3 separate regions of the Homo sapiens genome follow, and all the other regions are linked to region 1. The links are contacts of gene promoters, found by promoter capture Hi-C in blood cells and fetal thymus (Javierre and others, 2016). All regions are on one chromosome and are shown on one strand. The core of a region is centred on a gene start or on the middle of the fragment in contact, and the rest is flanking DNA. Distances in the headings are between cores, read along the strand shown. Region 1 holds the start of AP1AR (adaptor related protein complex 1 associated regulatory protein). Region 2 holds the start of INTS12 (integrator complex subunit 12). Region 3 holds the start of SNHG8 (small nucleolar RNA host gene 8).

The links. The method cuts DNA at HindIII sites, captures the fragments that hold promoters and counts their contacts. A CHiCAGO score of 5 or more calls a contact.
Region 2: a contact is called between the fragment with the promoter of INTS12 here and the fragment with the promoter of AP1AR in region 1, in 1 of 17 cell types (total CD4 T cells). The highest score is 6.4, in total CD4 T cells.
Region 3: the fragment with the promoter of SNHG8 here is called in contact with the fragment with the promoter of AP1AR in region 1 in 1 of 17 cell types (non-activated CD4 T cells); the score reaches 8.2 in non-activated CD4 T cells.

What each region holds. Positions count from the first base shown.
Region 1 is chr4:112,230,526-112,233,043 of GRCh38, forward strand. AP1AR (adaptor related protein complex 1 associated regulatory protein) reads left to right here and starts at 1,262. Exons shown (of 10, transcript NM_018569.6): 1 at 1,262-1,649. The coding sequence starts at 1,567. AP1AR-DT (AP1AR divergent transcript) reads right to left here and starts at 1,625. Exons shown (of 1, transcript NR_186684.1): 1 at 1-1,625. RefSeq lists enhancers at 1,035-1,982, 2,007-2,056 and silencers at 1,087-1,366, 1,527-1,796. The HindIII fragment of the contact is 11,290 bases long and covers 1-2,518 here.
Region 2 is chr4:105,707,429-105,709,946 of GRCh38, forward strand. INTS12 (integrator complex subunit 12) reads right to left here and starts at 1,261. Exons shown (of 8, transcript NM_020395.4): 1 at 1,210-1,261. GSTCD (glutathione S-transferase C-terminal domain containing) reads left to right here and starts at 1,356. Exons shown (of 12, transcript NM_001370181.1): 1 at 1,356-1,588. It overlaps LOC124900747 (a long non-coding RNA gene), which reads left to right. Exons shown (of 2, transcript XR_007058214.1): 2 at 473-668. RefSeq lists an enhancer at 1,336-1,585. The HindIII fragment of the contact is 4,662 bases long and covers 1-2,367 here.
Region 3 is chr4:118,277,504-118,280,021 of GRCh38, forward strand. It overlaps SNHG8 (small nucleolar RNA host gene 8), which reads left to right and starts at 1,259. Exons shown (of 3, transcript NR_034011.1): 1 at 1,259-1,289; 2 at 1,886-1,928; 3 at 2,121-2,320. SNORA24 (small nucleolar RNA, H/ACA box 24) reads left to right here and starts at 1,687; the gene lies at 1,687-1,817. RefSeq lists an enhancer at 787-966 and a silencer at 1,037-1,086. The HindIII fragment of the contact is 13,799 bases long and covers 1-2,518 here.

The DNA.
Region 1 (2,518 bases), core at 12-2,511:
TAGGATAGATGTACCAGTTTCTGTAAACATTTATAGTTGAATTTTAATGATTATTTCATTAATACATTTGTCTAATTTCAGGGGTTGGAAGGAGAAAAGAAAATGCTTTCACTAGGAAGTCATTCGGTCATCCCAACATTCACTGAAAGCAAACCATTGGGACAAATGTTATCCTATGCTTCTGATTACAAAACAACTAAAACCCAAATAAAATAAACATTAGTAAGTAGCAGTGCTAAGATTGAAACCAGATACGTATTTAAAGAAGCAAGAAAATGAGTTCAGAGAACATTTTATCATCAATAAAAACTTTCTAAAATGTAACAATTTTTCTAGGTTTAATTAAACAGGCTAAAAACTTGATGTGTCCAGTCCATGAGAGCATCCTCCTATCCACTGGACGAGGTGTCTACTAAACCACATCTTATATCTATTGTGAGGCCAACTGTCTTGAGGCCAAACAAGACGCGAATTATATGGTAGCACTTGAGAGGGCTGCGGACACATTAGAGCAGCTTTCTCTTCCCATCTACAGCAGTTCTGGGCAGCATGCTTGGAATGGCAACGCTGACGTCCCCGAAAAACCCCAGCCCTCTTGCCAATTTCCTCTGAACCCCAACTACCCAACCCAAAATTATGTGAAGATCTGATTTTCAAACAAAACGAGGACAATAATGCACCATTATTACGTTTCCCTAAAACATTAACAGTATGGAAATTAAGACACAAACCAGAGACCGGAAAAAAATCTTGGTGCGTTCAAAGTAACCTCAATCAGTTCCCGAGTCTATTTTCCGCTTATGGTGCAGTATTAACAAAAACTAAGCACACCGTGCAGAGAAACGCCCCTTCGCACTTATGACTTCCGGCCTGGGACTCTGGCTCCTCACACGCCTTTGATACAAAGTTCGAAGGCTGAGCCTTAGCCATGCCACGCCCAGCGTGCTCCGGACGAGGATGCCCGAAACTGCAATGAGAGAGGGAAATTTCCTAGTCAGGTCAAGGTCCAACAAAACAAACGTCCGCACGCAGGAATTGAACCGTCTCGCAGGCAGAGGCGGCTGAACCAGGAGCGAGCGGAAGTGACGCACAGGCCGGTCGCCAGAGAAGGCGGGGCACCGAGGTAGCGCGCCCAATTGGGGCGCGGGAGAGGCCGGGGGTGTGGCAGCGTTGGCGGCGAGCAGGGGCCTGGGCGCGCTGGGGGCGGGGCCAGGGTGCTCGGCTCGCGGGGACTGGCCTCCTTCGGCAGCTGGAGGCGGTCACTCACGCTGGGCTAGGAGCTGAGGCGAGAAGGGCCATGCGGACGGCGAGGGAGTCCAGAGCCTTGAGCCCGGTGCTCCTCCCTCGCGCAGCGGTGGCTCTGCGGCCGCTGGAGTAAACACTGCCTTTGTTCCCTAGCGCCTCGTCTTTCGTCGCCCCGTGCCCTCACGCCGCCGGGCTCTGGCCGGCCCGCCCTCGGTCCTTGAACCCCATTTCGGCTCGTGCCGTGCGGATGCAGCTGCCGGGCCTGGGTTTGGGCATTGAGCGGGAGGAGGAGGAGGAGCGGCGGCGCCTGGGCGGCATGCGATGGGGAACTGCTGCTGGACGCAGTGCTTCGGACTGCTTCGCAAGGAAGCGGGGCGGCTGCAGCGAGTAGGCGGCGGCGGAGGGTAAGCCCGCTGGGGGAGGGGCCCGGCCCCCGTGGCTCCTCCTCTTCGGCCCCCGGCGGGGAATCCCTTTCACCGTCCCCCGGCGGCTGGAGGTGGCGGTCGAGAGCCCTGCTACACTCACTGCTTAGCAGACGTCAGACTGGTGGTCGTCTTGGAGGCCCAGTCTGGGGTCCGGTCTTGGGGCCTCCTCGGAAAGAGGTAGAAGAGGGGGCGGGGTGTCCCTCCTGCCAGGGCGCCCTGTCACGCGGGGAAGGAGTCACGGGAGACATCATCTCCAGGAAACAAGGGGTAGCTTCGCGCTAATGGGCTGTAGGACCGGCTCCACGGCAACCTGGACACACCCTGCGCTGAGCTTAGGTTTAACGCCAAAGCTAGTATCCCTGTATCTGACCCTCTCTTTAGCCCTGGCAGAGCAGGTGGGATCTGGCTCCGGAGTTAATGCCTCAGATTGATTTTAAGTAGAAGTCATTTGGATGCTGGAGTAAAATAAGGTTCCAGATACTGATGAACTCTGGTAGCTACAAAGACTTGCTGAATTGCAGAGTTCCCAATGGGCATTCAGATTCTTGGTGCTCATAACTACAGGGACAATGTGTAATTTTTTCGTATTAAGTTTTTGAAATTTCGAGAGGAATTCCTTGCCCTGATTGCTACTCAAACGTCCTGTAACATTAGGTAAATTGCAGTCCTTCTGAACTTCACTTCTCTTGAGTAAACCTGGGATATTGCTTAGGTTTTGTATATGCACCATCCACAGAATAGTAATTTCATAATTCCGTTTTTGTGTTTTTTTATTTCATATATATTGAAAAAATTAGAGCAAATTCCTTTGGGGTTGGCTTTGTTGTTATTAAATGTCCCTCCGGAAT
Region 2 (2,518 bases), core at 11-2,510, 6.5 Mb before region 1:
ACAAAATAATGGCTATAGAATTACTGGAATTAAGTGATCAAAGTATAGTGGTCTTATCTCTCCTTCTACACAATTGTAGCCATTTCCAAGGTCCCTTCAGCAAAAATCACAAAAGTAACTCACCCCTGCCCCCACAAAAAAAACTCCAAACATCAAAAAAGCAAAAGCAAAGCAATCACCTCTTTCACGACTGGGGACTTGTAGTACAATGTTCCTATCTGTAAAATTCTCACAATCTTTCGCCTGTCTTGCTTAATTCATTAATCCCACTGGTCTGTAAACTTGATGACAGCAGGAACTTGTTTTGTTCACTGTTATTTCCCTAGTGCTTGAAACTTAATAAGGGCTCAAAAATATTTATCGAATGAACGAACTAGGTTTTTTGCGTAAATGTCACCTTATAAGGCTTCTGTGATCTCTCCAGTCTAAATTGGGCATTCATATATAAATATAAGTATGTGCTTTCTCCTAGATCCATTTTTCACCCTACCTGGCAATCTCAAAAGAAGTCCAAAGTTGATCATATGCACGTGCCCCAGATGAAGGAAACAGAAACTGTTCACATAGAGTGCAGTATTATCGTTGCCATTTCATAATGGCTCTAAAAAACTTTGTTCTTCATGACTTCGCAAGCTCTTGCAACCCCTTCCAATAAACATTATTTTAAAGATGCTGCCTTTTTCATTCCTCCACTGAGTTCTTGGTTCTGGATAACACTGATACCTTAGGGACACCTGGAATCGCAGGAGAAAAGGCTCCGATTCCAAACCAATCAAGTGGCTGAAAGCTGACAGCAAACACTTAGAAAAGGAATGTCAATCCTTTGATCAAAGCATCACACATCGAAGTCCTAGAATGGGGGATGGTCCTTGACAGGGGAGCCAAAAGATGAGAGACAATGAGGGAGCTACGTAGAGAAGTCACTAAAACCCTCCGACAAAGTCCGAGGCAGGATTCCAAGTCCCTTGTCCCTAGACCTAGAAATATGCTCGGTCCGCATGTCCCGGCCCGCAACTCCCTCGGAGGAAGCACAGTCCTCACTGAAAGGGGAGAGCAGTCAGTCTAGGGCACGCAACCGCCCGTAAATTATGATTCCCCTTGAGGAGCGAGGAAACTAATACCCCACGTAGCTACTCTCCCACCTCGCTCCTGGCGCGGGGGTCTCGAGCCTCCAGGAGGCCAGGAGCAGAGTCGCTCAGCATAACTCACCGTTCCGCCCCGCCCTGCCGATCCGTCTGTTCCCGGTGGTCCCTTCGGAAACGGTTCCCGCACTGGCCGGCTCCGAAAGCAGGAAAACAAAGGTTCCCACAGTAGGGGCGGGGGAAACGTTTGGCAGTGCGACAGTAGGAAGTGACGTTACTTCCCTTTTTCCGGTCCGCCGGATTATGAATGACGGCCGGCGCGAGTATTTTCCACATAAGGTGGCTGTCGTTTTTCTCCTGGCGTCTGTGGAGGCGAGTGGTCTGCGGGCAGCAGCTCCCAGAGGCAGCCTTGGAATTCCAGCTCGGACTGGGCGGGAAGGCGCAGGCGGCCCAGGTCGCCGACACGCTCACGCACCCTCCCTGCCTGGCCGCGCCTCTGCGACCAGGTAAAGAGGGCGCTCGGGCCGCCGGCTTCTCAGCCTCCGCGACCCCCTAAGAACTGGTCTTTTCTTCGGGGGTCTGCAGGGCTGAGGATGCGGGGGAAGGGTGGGAAGGACAAGGGCGTGGTATCATCGTCCTGATTTTTCTCCCGCCCTGGGGCCGCCTCAAACTCCTTTTTGGCCACTCCTGCTGAAGGTGCGGGTTGAGGGCTCTGGGCTTCTCGGTAGTACGCGTTTCCCAGTTTCCCCCTAGCCAGTCCCTCATGTCTTCCTCTGCTGATGGAGAAATGGGGCAGCTTCCAGTTGGAGGCGTTGGTTGGGGTGGTTTGATATTTGCTGTTAAGTGTTACTTCAAGACCTCTTGGGTCACACTAACTTCTCTTCTCTCTTTGGCATTGAGTTTTCCATTCCAGCCCTTCCTGATTGCAGAAAGCAGTTCTATGTGAATACTACTTAACATTTACTCCAAAGGACTTGCTTCATTTGGGGCCATTTGCTTATGTTTTGTCATCACAGCAGTATCTCTTGGGTTTTTAACTTCTATAGAAAGTTTAATTTGCATGAAAGTTGCTTTGGTTTCAAAAACGTTTGCTAATACACGTACTTCCCATCCCAACTTTCTACCTGGTTTTGGGATGAGATGACTTGTTTTTTTCCCCTTTATTCTTAATGCCAGGATCCCATTCCTTGTCATAAATTCTTGAATATCAAGAAAATGCCAGCTTTAGTAATATATTGTGTGCTACATTATTGATAAAGAAGGTGGTGTATTTCTATTTTACCTAAGCTTATCTGTAAAAACAATGTTTACAGGAGAAAATGCAAAAGCTAGCAAGAACTAGTGATGTGATAATTTTAAACATGTAAACATAGTCATTTAAATCCATGATAATAAACTGTTATAACACAACTAAGTGATTCGCTGTCATATTTAAT
Region 3 (2,518 bases), core at 9-2,508, 6.0 Mb after region 1:
CTGAGCCAAGATCATGCCACTGCACTCCAGGCTAGGCAACAGAGCAAGAATGTTTCTAAATAAATAAATACATAAAATAAAATCCTTAAGCCAATCTTCATTTACCAACCAATTTTTAATTCTTTTATTTGTTACCACATTGTCTCTCCTGAATATCCAAAGGCTCAAAGCCTTGGTTTGAATGCAGCTAAATTCATTGGGTTTGATCTCAAGTCAAACTTAGAAATACTGTCATCTCAGCCACAAATTTCACACTAAAGTAGATAGAAACCACTACTAAATCACTACTTTGTCTTAAAATGAAAGTATAATAGACTGTAAGGTTATAATTGCTTTTTTAAGTTAAACTTTGTTTTACATTTACAGAAAATTTGCAAAAATGGAGTCCCCACACCCCCTTCATCCAATTTCCCCTACCATTAATATCTTACAATACCATGGTATATCTGTCACAATAAAGAAATCGGTATTGGCACTATTACCTAAATTCCACACTTTGTTCAGATTCGCTAGTTTTCCATTAATGTCCTTTTTCTGCTGGAGATCCCAGCCAGGATACCACATTACATTTAATCATTATGCATCATTTTCTCTGGCATAATAGTTTCTCAGACTTTTCTTGTTTTTGAGTAGTGATTAGGTAATTTGTAAAATGCTAACCAGCGATCTCAGCTCACCATAACTTCCGCCTCTCGGGCTCAAGAGATTCTCCCACCTCAACCTCCCGAGTAGCCGGGACTACAGGCGTTCACCACCACACCAGGCTAATTTTTGTATTTTTAGTAGAAACGGGGTTTCGCCATGTTAGCCAGGCTGGTCTCCAACTCCTAACCTCAAGTGATCCGCCCGCCTCGGCCTCCCAAAGTGCTGGGATCACAGACGTGAGCCACCGCGTTCGGCCCCTTTTTCTAATATTGTCTAAAATAAGTATCCTAAACAGGAAATACCAAAAAAATCCCCCTCGCTTTCGTGACCTACACCGGTAAGCGTCAGGATCTTTCGCTATGCGAGAACCTTTTGGCTCTCGTATGTGCGCATGCGTCTGGATCCGGAGCCAGGTGACCCGCTCAGACGTGGACCATGTGCGGGGGAGGGGGGAAAGGAGCCGCGAAGGGGGTGGTAGACGGAACAGGTGGAGCCGCGGCGGGGCTAGGCGGGGCGGGGAGTGAAACAGCATAGGCTCCGCCCCTCGCGGCGCTTCCCCCGGAATAGCGTCATCAGTTCTATAAGAGAGCGTGTGCCGAAGGCCTCGGCCTTTCACATTCGGGAAGCGTCGGGATTAGGTGAAAGTACGTAGTTGTCTTTCGTAAGTTAAAATGATAATTGGGCCGAAACTTACTGCCTTACCTAAAAGGCAGCGCAGTCAGGATATTGGTAGGTCGGGGGCGGCTTTGGAAACCCTTAAGTTTACAAGCATGCGCGGACTTGAGTGCTCATTAGGTCGCCGGGCGTCCACGTGCAGCCCTGGACCCTGAACCCCGGCGTGCGTGGGCCGTGGGCCCTCGGGGAAAGGTTCCGTGCACTCGGGGACTCCGGTGAAGCCTGTTCAGCCGTCTGTGTCATGTGGCCATCTTGAGTCTACTCTGTCGCTCTTGTGCCCTAGCACCCCGAGAACCGTCAGTTTGAGCCAGATGGTGAGTAATAACCTGTAGCAGTTTGGTTGCTGGTTAATTCTGGATTGTGAATCTCCATGTATCTTTGGGACCTGTCAGCCGTGGCAGTCTCCCTTCCTAGCCATGGAAGAGCATATCCTTGTTTATTGGCAAAGCTGTCACCATTTAATTGGTATCAGATTCTGACTTGCACAAGTAACATTCACTGTTAAAAACCTAGAGGGTGCCGGGTTATTGGGCAAAATTTCTAAACCGTTGTTCAATGTTTCTAGGAAGCTGAGCTGAACACATTACGATGGATGATGGAAACATAAGGTACATTTCTTTTTTGATATTTCTGAGTTAATCTGAAACGCCTTAGCGGCAGGACGTTGGAAAGCTAAAGTTGGCCCGTTTTGCTGGCTTTTGTAGTTTGAGTTAACAACCAACTGAATTAGCTGATAAGATCTCAAAACAGTGAGGTAAGTACACAGCTCGGAGTTTTATAATGCTTTTTTTCTCTTGCAGACTATCAAGAAATCCAAGTGGTAATGGGCGAAGTTTATTCAGCATCCGGCAATGGACTTATCGTAGTTGGGGAAACGGGTGTTCCGAATAATATCCTGGAAGTTATCAGGACACCTATTTTAAATATAGGCCTGAATTTTGTAAAGTAATATTTAAGGTGGTCCGTGATAATTAAATAAAATGCTTAATTCATGTGGCTACTCATTGTTCCTTGACTGAGTGATTAATAGACGGAAAGGTAGTTAATAGCATAATACCTCCTATTTAGTGTTACACGCTCATGTGGAAGTAGTGTGAGTACAGTTCTAAGGTAATTGCAGCCTTTGTGAAAAATGTAAAATATAAAAATTACCAGGCTACCCCCAAGGGAGACAGCAGACTCTTTTTAAACCATACAA